2 separate regions of the Homo sapiens genome follow, and region 1 is linked to region 2. The links are contacts of gene promoters, found by promoter capture Hi-C in human tissues and cell types (Jung and others, 2019). All regions are on one chromosome and are shown on one strand. Each heading gives the region's core, a stretch centred on a gene start or on the middle of the fragment in contact. The rest is flanking DNA. Distances are from core to core; before and after follow the strand shown.

Region 1 (5,201 bases), core at 2,418-4,917, 670 kb after region 2:
CCTGTGATACTATCCCTAATATCCTAGGGGTATGCTCTTCCGAATGTCACATGGGGTGTACACCATGTGTGTACACGTGCTGTGATATTATTCGTAATATCCTAGGGGAACGTTACTCCTGATGACACAGGCAGTGTACACCATGTGTGTACCCCTCCTGTGTTATTATTCATAATATCCTAGGGGGATGTTTCTTTGAATGTCACAAAGAGTGTACAAAACGTCACAGGAAGTGTACACGTTGTGACGTTATCTGTAATACCCTAGAAGGATGTTACTCCTAATATGTCACAGGGGTGTACACGCTTTGATGTTATTTATAATCTCCTAGAGAGATATTACTTCAAATATCACAGTGGATGTACACACATAGTGTATACCCTGTGATGGTATTCATAATATCCTAGGGAGATACAACCCCTGATATCACAGTGCGTGTACCCCGTGTGTGTACACCCTTGATATTAGTCGTACTATCCAGGGTAAATATTACTCCTCATATCACACAGTGTGCACACCCTGTGATATTTTTCATCCTACTTTAGGGAGATATTGCTTCTAATATCACAGTGGGTGTACCCCATGTGTGTATACTCTGTGACAGTATATTTTATATCCTAGGGAGGTATTACTCCTAGTATCACAGTGGGTGTTCACCCTGTGATATCATTCTTATTTCATCATGCAGCCTTTTTCGACCCACACTGCAAAAGGAATGGAACAGATAAGAAGGTATTGAGATTAGAACGTGCTGCCGTGCGGCCGCCGCAGGACACTTTTCATATCCCTGTTTCTCGGACTGTAGATGAAGGGGTTCATCATGGGGGTGACCACTGCGTACATCACTGAGGCCACTGCAGTCTTTCTCGGGGAAGATGACACATCTGAACTGAGGTACCCTCCAACGCCTGTTCCATAAAATCAGGAAACATCTGACAGGTGAGACCCATAGGTGGAGAAGGCTTTATACTTCCCACCTGATGATGAAACCCTCAGAATGGAGGAAACAATTTTATCGTAAGAGAAAAGTGTCCCCGAGATGGGAAGAAAACCAAATATGGCATCAGGGAAATACAGGATTATGTTATTGTTGAAGGTGTCACAACATGCAAGATGGGGGAGTTGAGAAGGGTCACAGAAGAAATTAGGAATTTCCACATCCTTGAAGCAGGTCATTTGTAAGGCAATCAAATTGTACAGCTGGGCATCTAAAAGACTGAGGGAAAAAAAAAAGACAACAAAAGTAGAAAGCCACAGAAACACGGGTTCATGATGGCTGAATGATATAGAGGGTGACATTTGGCTACAAACTGGTCATAGGCCATCACACTCAGGAGTATGTCTGTCTTCCATGCCTCCAAAAATGGCAAAGAGAGACATCTGAGTCAGGCAGCCTGCATAGGAGATGACTCTGCTGTGAGATTGGATGTCCACAGTCATCTTGGGGACTGTGGTGGAGGTGAAACTGATGTCAGGCAAGGACAGGTTGGAGAGGAAGAAGTACATGGGGGTGTGGAGGTGGGAGTCAGGGCTGATGGCCAGGATGATGAGCAGGTTCCCCAGCGCCATGACCAGGCACGTGGACAGGAACAGCCCAGTGAGGACCGGCTGCCGTTCTGGATCCTCTGAGCTTCTAGGAGGAGGAATATAGAGACATCTGTTAGATTCTGTGGGTCTCTAGAGATTGGACACCTTTTGCCTAGAAAAGAGGGTTGAGAAATTGGAAACAAGTAAAGCAACACCCAGCATCATGTCTGCATTTTGCATAGAAGCAATTCACAAGTCATGTTTTCAGATTTCAGAGCAATCCACACTCAGCAATAGTTTGCAGTGCTGACAAACTCAGTTGTCTTCTAATGCTTTCATCATTGATTTCTGTGTTCTTCACTTCTTGCTCTACACACCTGCCTTAGAGACACTAGATTCAAGAATCTTCCAAGAACCAAATCATCCTATATAAGAAGTTCGTCATTGCTAGAAAATACAGCCTATCTTTTCCGAAGAAAACGATGTAATGAAACCATTCTCTTCACTTTAAGAAAAAGGTTATCCTAATGAAAGGAAATTAAGAACTCAAATATTTTATTTTATTCGAATAGATTGATACAAATTCCCTTGATTTAGAACATCTGTAAACACTGTATAACTGCTGAGACCATGCCATCTGGAAATGAAATTAAAGTTGATGGTTCATAAGCAGAAAATAGTTCCACAGGCCAGGTGGGTCCCAGTGATTTCATCATTACGTTTTCTGACTTTTCTCCTTCAAGAGAGTAATTGCTTCCTCAAATCAGTGGGTCTTGTTTTAAAATTCATGGAAGCTATAACTCCTATCCTTAGCTTAGGTGGACTTAGAGTTTTCATCAGAACGTTTGGCCGGACGCGGTGGCTCACGCCTGTGATACCAGCACTATGGGAGGCCGAGGAGGGCGGATCACGAGGTCAGGAGATCAAGACCACCCTGGCCAACATGGTGAAACCCCGCCTCTACTAAAAATACGAAAACTTCGCCCGGTATGGCGGCGTGTGCCTGTAGTCCCAGCTACTCGGGAGGCTGAGGCAGGAGAATGGCTTGAAACTGGGAGGCAGAGGCTACTGTGAGCCGAGATCACACCACTGCACTCCAGCCTGGGCAACAGGAGCAAAACTCCATCTCAAAAAACAAAAAACCAAAAACACACGCTCTGTCACACTGACGTCACACTGATGACAGCCAATTTTTGTGAACCAAGGAAGTGTCAATTCAATAATCAGCATAGATGTTTACTTTGGCTATCTCCTATGTGCCAAGCAAGATATAGGCTCTGGGGAATCAGAAACAAAAGAGACTCAATTGTTCCTCTCACAATACTCAGTACTTACTGAGACAAGGACAAAATAAGATGTCCTGTCTGGAATGCAGGGACACAAGAACTTCAGGTCAGGGGATATTTCCGTTGAACCGTTTGGAGTTTAAGCTGAAAATATTAACGAATGTATCTAAAGTTCACTTTGCCTTGACTTTATGCATCCATCACATAGAGATCACGCAGCGGGCACCCACTATGGGTTTCATCATCGCTCACTTCCCTTGGATCAACTAGAAATCAACTCAGATGAGAGTGCTGAGTCTCAGAGGATGGACGTCTCACTCCTTGCCATACAGATAAGTAGAAAGGGTGGTATTGAAATTAATGGCCAGACTCTAAGTCCCGGGCACTATACTTGATGGTCTCCCAACCCTCAAAATGTTGTGGGTTCTTTTTTGTTTTTGAGACGGAGTCTCATTCTGTTTCCCAGGCTGGAGTGCAGTGGAGCGATCTCGGCTCACTGCAACCTCCGCATCCCAGGTTCAAGCTATTCTCTTGCCTCAGCCTGCCGAGTAGCTGAGATTTCAGGCGCCCGCCACTACGCCTGGCTTATTTTTTTCTCTTTTTAGGAGAGACGGGGTTTCACCGTGTTGGCTAGGCTGGTCTCGAACACCTGACCTTGTGATTTGCCTGCCTCAGCCTCCCAAAGTGCTGGGATAACAGGCGTGAGCCACCACGCCCAGCTTCAAAAGTTTTCAACAGAGCTCAGAGGTCTTAACCACAGGCACATCCGAGGAGCATTTTTGAAATGGTTTCCAGCTTCCTCAATAGGAATGGAAGCCAAACCCGGAACTGATGGCTCCTTGGAGGAAGTCGAGAGCTGTAAGGAAAGCCAGGAACAGGGGCAAGGGAGAGATGCATCCCGAATGATCCTGTGCCAATTCTTTCTGGAATCTTTGATGTGATCTCCGCTGCCCTTTCCATACTTGACACAGTGATTGTGGCACCCACTGGTCTAGCTGTGGTCTACAAGGAACCCCCAAAGGGAAGGGCACAGTGAGCAGGGGCATCGGCCTGAGTGACAAGGATTGGAGGGGGCAGGTTGGATGCAGGGAGAGGACTGGCCAAATGCCATGTGTCTGGCTTAGACTACCTTGTTCAAATTGGGCTTCACCATTTTTGACTTCGTGATCTGGTACAAGTTATATGAAAATGTGTTGCTCCTTTTCTAGTCTGTAAAATCATAAGGAAATGTGCACTAATAACTGGGAGACTATGCAGATGAAATGAAACAAGCTGCATAGAACACAGAGCTCAGAGCCTGGCCTTTAGGAAGCCCTCAGTAAGGGTTCATGATGCCATGGTGTCTGTCATCATCCTCTTTATCCTCATCATCACCTTCATCATCTTTTTGTTGTTCTGAGGGCATACTTTAGAGGGACTCATTCCCTGCTCTCATGGGTGAGATGTCTATGAAGAGGACAACCAGTGGGGGAGGGAAGCAAAATTTTGAAGAAGATTCCTGAGAGAGATCCCCCACCACAACCAAGAACAGAAACTCCACAGTCTGCTGAGCTGACAGTTTGCACATTGGTCTCCTCCCATCTGCCCACGGCACTCTCCCGTTTGTCCTGAAGATGAGGAAACAAACAAGGCTCCCGACCGTCCCTCAGCACTCACTGAACGGCCCTTCCCCTCTGCTGGGCCATGACCACGGAGAACAGGTCCACTGTCCTCCCTGAGTGGTGCACATGGGAGGCTCAGACTCCGTCCTCAAGGCTGGTAAGAAGACAGGGTGAGACATGAGCCTCCTGATACAGGTGACGGGTGTGGAGCCCACAGGACTGCAACCTCACACTGCAGGGCTGGAGGCACAGACTGAGTATTTCCTATTCTATGGCCTGGGGGGCTCAAGGCACAGAGCTCCTCATTAGCCAGAGTCGCCCATGTTCCCCATGCTCTAAGGATTTCCTCATCATCATGCAAGAAGAAGAATAGAAAAGTAAGTGTCCATAGAAGCTTTGGGGCTCTTCCTCTAATCAGGAGAGAGCTTGTGTGTATTATTTGCTTTTTTCTTTTACAAGATCCAAGTGCTTTAATTTTCATCTTTTATTATGGGAAAATATACCACGTATAAATCCTAAAAATTATAAATATAGATTATTTCATATAGAATGGCCAGTATGAACATTTATAATTTCCACTATTTTTCAGTTTAGAGTTTAATCACATTAGGTACATTCACATTGTTTAGCAACCATCACCGCCATCATCTCCAGAACAGTTTTATCCTTGAAAATGGAAATTGCACCCATTAACCAAACTCTCCATTCCTCTCCCTCTCACCCACCCCTGGGGGCCACCATTCTATTTTGCAGCTCTATAAGTTTAACTACTCTAGACACGTGATAT
Region 2 (5,539 bases), core at 2,561-5,060:
GAGTGTGTAAGATGATGATTTATGCCTGTGGGAAATACTTATCTGCAGGACTTGCTTTATCAGTAGAAATGACTAATATGATAGAATATGAATGACAACTTTTCAGGTCTAGTAATAACCTGTGTTGATAACTAACTGCCCAATTTTGGAAACCTAGTTAGTATAGTTCTTTGCTGTCCTATTTTTGCAGGGCATAGAAATTCTGGCCCATGGGCTTTTGTGGAGATAGAAGTACCATTAACTAAAACATAAACTATATGAGAAAACTGGCTGCTAACACATTAACTTCCTTATTAAGTAAATAAGGTGGGGGAGTAATGTTTGTTGTTCATCTAACAGATGACAAGTGAATGTTAAAATCTGTCATCCTTCTGTCTTATTTTTTTTCTTGGCAGTTTAGTAATCCTCATATTGACTGAACAAAAATTATGTGTCCTTACTGTTTTGGAAAAAATGTGCAAAAGATCAGAGAATAAATGGTCTTCTAGCCTACTTATGTCATGTTTCAAGGGTTTTAACATTCTTTTGTGGCAGGTAGATATCTAAATCTCAACCCAGGCAGCACCAGTGTCTGTCTACTCATAATTTCTATTGCCAATAAAACAAATGATTTAACATTTCAAATTGACATGGGGCTTGACAGAGATTTAAAGGTTTCTTTTGGTCTTAATAGATCAAGGATAGGCTTGTCATAAAAAAAATAATAATGTTGTGGTTTACCCATCCTAATTACCTTGTGGCTCTAAATTCTTTTTCCTGACAGAGTGATTAATTTTTTAGTTCCAAGGATACTTTGTAGGGCAATTCAACATGGACTATAATTAGCAGTTTAAAAGTGAAATCAAAATATGAATAAAAAACTAGCTGTGAACTCAAGTTTTGAAAACTTTCAAAATTAAATGTCATTTTCAAAAATTTAAATTCGACTGTTCTGAAAACAGTGGTGTGTGCCCAGTTAGGCTTCAATTTGTGCTAAATGAAATCCCCATCAGTACTAATATGATTTAATAGGTTATATGTGAGAATAGAATGACTGTAAACATGGATCACATTCAACCGGGTTAAGGAGTTGAGAAAACTTTCACTGATTGCTGAAAATTAATGACATTTTTTTCTTGCTGTAAACAAAATATCAATGTTCCAGCCTTAACTCCACAGTTGGCCACTTGCAAAAGCTACCCTTTCTAGTCTCCAAGGAATTCTGGGAGACTCTGAGCAAGGCCACAGCTGAGGCCTGGACACTATCTTCACTGCTCCATCTCATCCTTGGGTATGCAACTCAGTGATGTAAAGAAAAGCTCCTTCCAACCATCCTGAATCCCTGCCCTGCACTCCACAGCCCCAACTAAATGGATCATTTAAAAAATGAAAAGCAAATTCATGCACATCTCCTCAAGAGTTGCTCCCTTCCTTCTAAGCAGTGTGGGCATATTATAAGGATCTTCTTCCTCATGAGGCTTATTTCGTTTATGTCTGTGTGTGTACAGGGAGCAATAGATAAATACAAAAAATAACATAATTAAAATATATAGCATGCCACACAGGGATAAATACTACTGAGGAAAATAAAGCTGAGAGGGAACTAGCGGGTGTCTGGGTGGGTGGCGCTGCAAAGATGATACCTGAGCAAAGAGCTGAAGGATGCAGGTAAGTGACCCATTCGGATCTCAGGTAACTGGGGAAGAGAGCTTCAGGCTGAATGAACACCAAATGCAAAGGCCCTGGAGTAGGGAGGTGCCTGGCGTCGTTTGAGGAACAGTAAGAAGCAGTGTGGCTGGAGCAGAGGGAGTAAGTGGGAGGCAATGAGGTCGAAGGGGCCAAAATGGAAGAGGTCATGTAGGACAGGCTGAGAAGCGTGGGAAAAATTGGAGGGTTTTGAGCAGAGGAGTGGCACGACAGAATATGTTGCTAAAGCCTCTTCGTGTCTAGCCATGGTGGAAATATCATCAAAAGAGACTGGAAAGATAAATCTGGTAACAGGTGTCCCAAAGTTTGCACATATAACTACTGAAAGAGGAAAGGGCTTGAATTCCGGAGAAGTGGGTGTGTGTATAGTTGGGAGGAGAAGGTTTCCCTAGGAGATGCACCTGTCTGGCTTCCAGGCCGCGACTGCGCAAACTCCGGTCCTGACACTCTAGTCTCAGGTCCCAACTCCGGAAGGGTTCAGGCCCAAGCCTGCACGTCGCGTTGCCATGGCGACCGCTGGCTGCCCTCTCCGCTCTGTCTTTTGAGCACGTGGCACCAGGACCCCGCGTTCTCTCCAGCTCGAGAGCCAGGTCTGGCCCAGAGCCGGGCTCATCAGTATTCCGCCTGCGGCGTCTCCCCGACCCTCCGCCGTGCCTCACCAGGTCCGCCTATCCAGCAGCGACAGACTCCCGCCGTCCGCGCGACCCCACCGCCCCCATCCCAGTCCCTCCCCGAGGGTTCGCAGCCCGCCCTGCCCTCGAGCGTGCCTAGCGGCCCTGGGCACTGGCGCGGCTCTACCCAGCTATGCAGTGCTTTCCCACACACTGGCCGCGGCCACTGGCTGCAGACCCGCCGCGGAAAGGGGGCGCCCTGAGTCCCGCTCGCAGGCAGCGCGCCCCGAGAGACCCGCTCTAAGGCATCCCCGCAACAACTCTGTGGGGGCATTCAACTCCCCCGTGCGCCGGTTAAGATTCCCCCATGCCTCCTGCAATGCACCAGACCAGGGAGGTAAACATCGAAGGCACCTGCATTGCGCCCCCACTGGGATGCGCTGTGCGCAAGAGACGGGGACCGTCTGCTGCAAAACCGGATGATCGGAGACGCAGGGAGTTAGGAGTGGGTTTTCTTAGGACTCACCTTATGTAGTTTCCACATGGCCCCCAGAGCCTTGACTTCGTGGCTGGAGTGTTTGCCCTCCTCCAAGCACTGGTAGCACACGGGCATCTTGCATTGCACGCAGTACATGCTGTGGTTCTCCAGCTCGTGGTCTGTGCAGGTGGAGACCTTGCGTGGGCTCAGCCTCCGGCTCACACGACCCTGGGCCGGGGGCACCAGGCGGTGCTTGGCTAGGGGCCCCCGGGGCGGGTGGCAGCGCAGGCGGCACGGATCGCAGTAGAAGACATCGCACTGTTCGCACATGACGGTGGCTTCCTTGGGCGCCTTCTCGCAGAGCTGGCACTTGAGGGCCGCGGCTTTGCTCTGCTGGTAGCGGTCAATTACCCCTTCCAGTACGCGATTCTTGGGGAAGCCGCGGAGCCCCCGGTCATCCAGGATGAGGCTGCGGTGACACTGGGGGCAGGTGATACAGGAGTTGCGGGGCACCGGGGCCAGGGCCGGTGACAAGTGGGTGGCCGGTGGCGGCATAGCCGGGGGAAACACGCGGACGCCGTTGGGGGACTTCTGGCACGGGGTAGTGGGGGCGCTGGCGAACCCCCCGTAGGAGCCATAGCCGCTGTCCGCCTCGCTGTATAGGCTCATCTTGTCCAGGTCCAGATAGTCATAGTCGGAGACCCCGGAGCCCGCGGCCCGATGGCTCTGGGGGGATTCAGACTCTGGGGTCTGCACCAGGATGTTGCGGGCGCACGCCTGACACAAATTGTGAGAGCAGGGCAGGATGATGGGCTCCCGATAGAAGGAGCCGCACACGGGGCATTTCAACTCCTCTTCCATCTCCTCCATGGGGACCGGTCTGGGAGGAGACAGCGACGGCTGCAGCGGGTGCCTGAGCTGGCGAGGTGGCCGACGGGCCCGTCTTGTCCAGCACCCTGGCCAGCGGCGGCGGCTGTGGTGGTGGTGCCTTCCCGCGCAGCACTGGCACGGACACCCAGAGAGGCGCTAGCTCTGTGAGCCGCAGCCGCGTAGCCGCCGCGCCGCGCGCCAGCCCGGACCGCCCCTACCTGCCCTCCTAGTCCCGCCCCGGCCCATGAGCAGCGGCCCATTGGGCGGGGGGCAAGAGATCGAAGCTCTCATTGGCCACCAGACCCGTCCGTCTCCTCGTCTCCGCAGGCCACAGGGGGTTCGGTAGAGTCTGAGGATAGGGCAGTCTTCGCTCGCGGCTGCAAGATCTCTGAAGGGGGCCGGCGTGCGGAGGCTAGGGGACCGGGAAGGAGGAGTTAGGCGGGATGATTCATCCTCGCCCGGCTTACTTCCGACCTCCGGTGCAGTCTCCCAGGAGCTGGGGGCGTGAGAAACCCCTCCCCGCAGCGAGTGGGCTGCCGGAGGGGGCTGGGGCTTCTCGCCAGCGTTTGCGTTTGGCTCCCAGCTCTGAGCTCCGCGCCCACCTACCGCGGGCGAGTGCTGCGCAGCACGGAGGACGCCCCTTCTCTTCCGCTGCTGGCAGCCTTCGCAGGCGTCTCACCCGGGCCTAGGCTTCTGCACGGCAGTGGGGCTTTTCTCCTTCTCCGTGAATCCGCTGACGCCGTGCCCTGGAGCTCCCCCATCCCGGGAGTCTGACGGCGCTGGCGCAAGCCCTGGCGACACTCTTGGCTTCTTTCATCCTGCGTCCCTCGTTTCCTAAAGAGCATGTATAAAGTCGATTTCCTAGTGTCGACATGAGATTCAACTGGGTAACCGATGGAAATGGTCAGCATTAGTCAGAATCTATGACCCCTTCGTTTCATGCTTTAAATTATAGCTCGGCCCAGAGGCCTCAGTGCCGTGGTGTGAACGTGCTTCCTTCCACGGATCCTTCTTCCTCCTCGCGGCCTCCCAAAGCACCTGGCTGAGCTTTTTCGAGGCCCGCTGGGCCTTTGGTTCGGTTGAGGCAAGAACAGTTTGTCTATTTCTGAGTGCCCGTAGTTTAGTAAAGCTCTGTAAATGAATCACTGTGTGACTGCGGAGTCTCAGTGTTTCACTCCAAACAGCATTATTCAACCCCACGTGCCCTGGGCATCTGCCATAGCTTACAGCATCGTGTGCCTTTCTGTTTCTTCCAACGAGGGGCATGGTGAGGCGGTGATTCTAGTGTTAGTCCCTGTACAAGGAGGGAGGGAGGGAGGGAAGAAGGGAAAGAGGGAGAGAGGGAGGAAGGAAGGGGGGGGGAAAGGAAAGGCGGAAGGAAGGGAAGAAAGGGAGGGAGGAAGAAGAAAAGGAAAGGAAAATCTTTGAGTCAAGTGACATTCTGAGGTAGTAACATTTGAAATAGTACATAGCCGGCTTTTGCTGAATGATTCATGAAGTAAAGGACAAAAACTCTTTGCAAGTTCTAGAAATATTCCAATTTTCCACCTTCCAGACAGGAGATAACTTGATTATATGCAGCTATGTTGATAATTTAAAAGTACTTTATTGTCCAGAAAAAAAATGGACATTTTATTACACTGCCCTTGTAGAAATTGTCCAATAAACTAGGTTATCTTTTCAACATCTTTAGTTGCAGTGAGAACAGTAGTTGATCATTGTGTGGGGGAATAAAGTCCCCATTGTTATTTAAAGCCATGTTAATCATAAATGTGACGTGATTTATTTTTAAGCTGGCTTTCAACTAGTTGAGACCAGAGCATCCAAAGGTATATGCACTCTGTTTACAGACATAGATAAAATTTCTTCAGGTATGGTTGGGACATTAGCTGCA

Evidence for each region. Contacts are between HindIII fragments. The study calls those that stand out against the background at their distance.
Region 1: a fragment that was not itself captured here is called in contact with the fragment with the promoter of TRIM9 in region 2 in 1 of the 25 tissues and cell types used here (mesendoderm cells).

The regions. Positions count from the first base shown.
Region 1 is chr14:51,762,350-51,767,550 of GRCh38, forward strand. LOC101927598 (a long non-coding RNA gene) reads left to right here and starts at 3,467. Exons shown (of 8, transcript XR_002957605.2): 1 at 3,467-4,791. It also overlaps the pseudogene OR7E106P. The HindIII fragment of the contact is 4,822 bases long and covers 1,257-5,201 here.
Region 2 is chr14:51,091,295-51,096,833 of GRCh38, forward strand. TRIM9 (tripartite motif containing 9) reads right to left here and starts at 3,811. Exons shown (of 13, transcript NM_001387360.1): 1 at 2,824-3,811. The coding sequence starts at 3,645. RefSeq lists a silencer at 3,803-3,872. The HindIII fragment of the contact is 24,626 bases long and covers 1-5,539 here.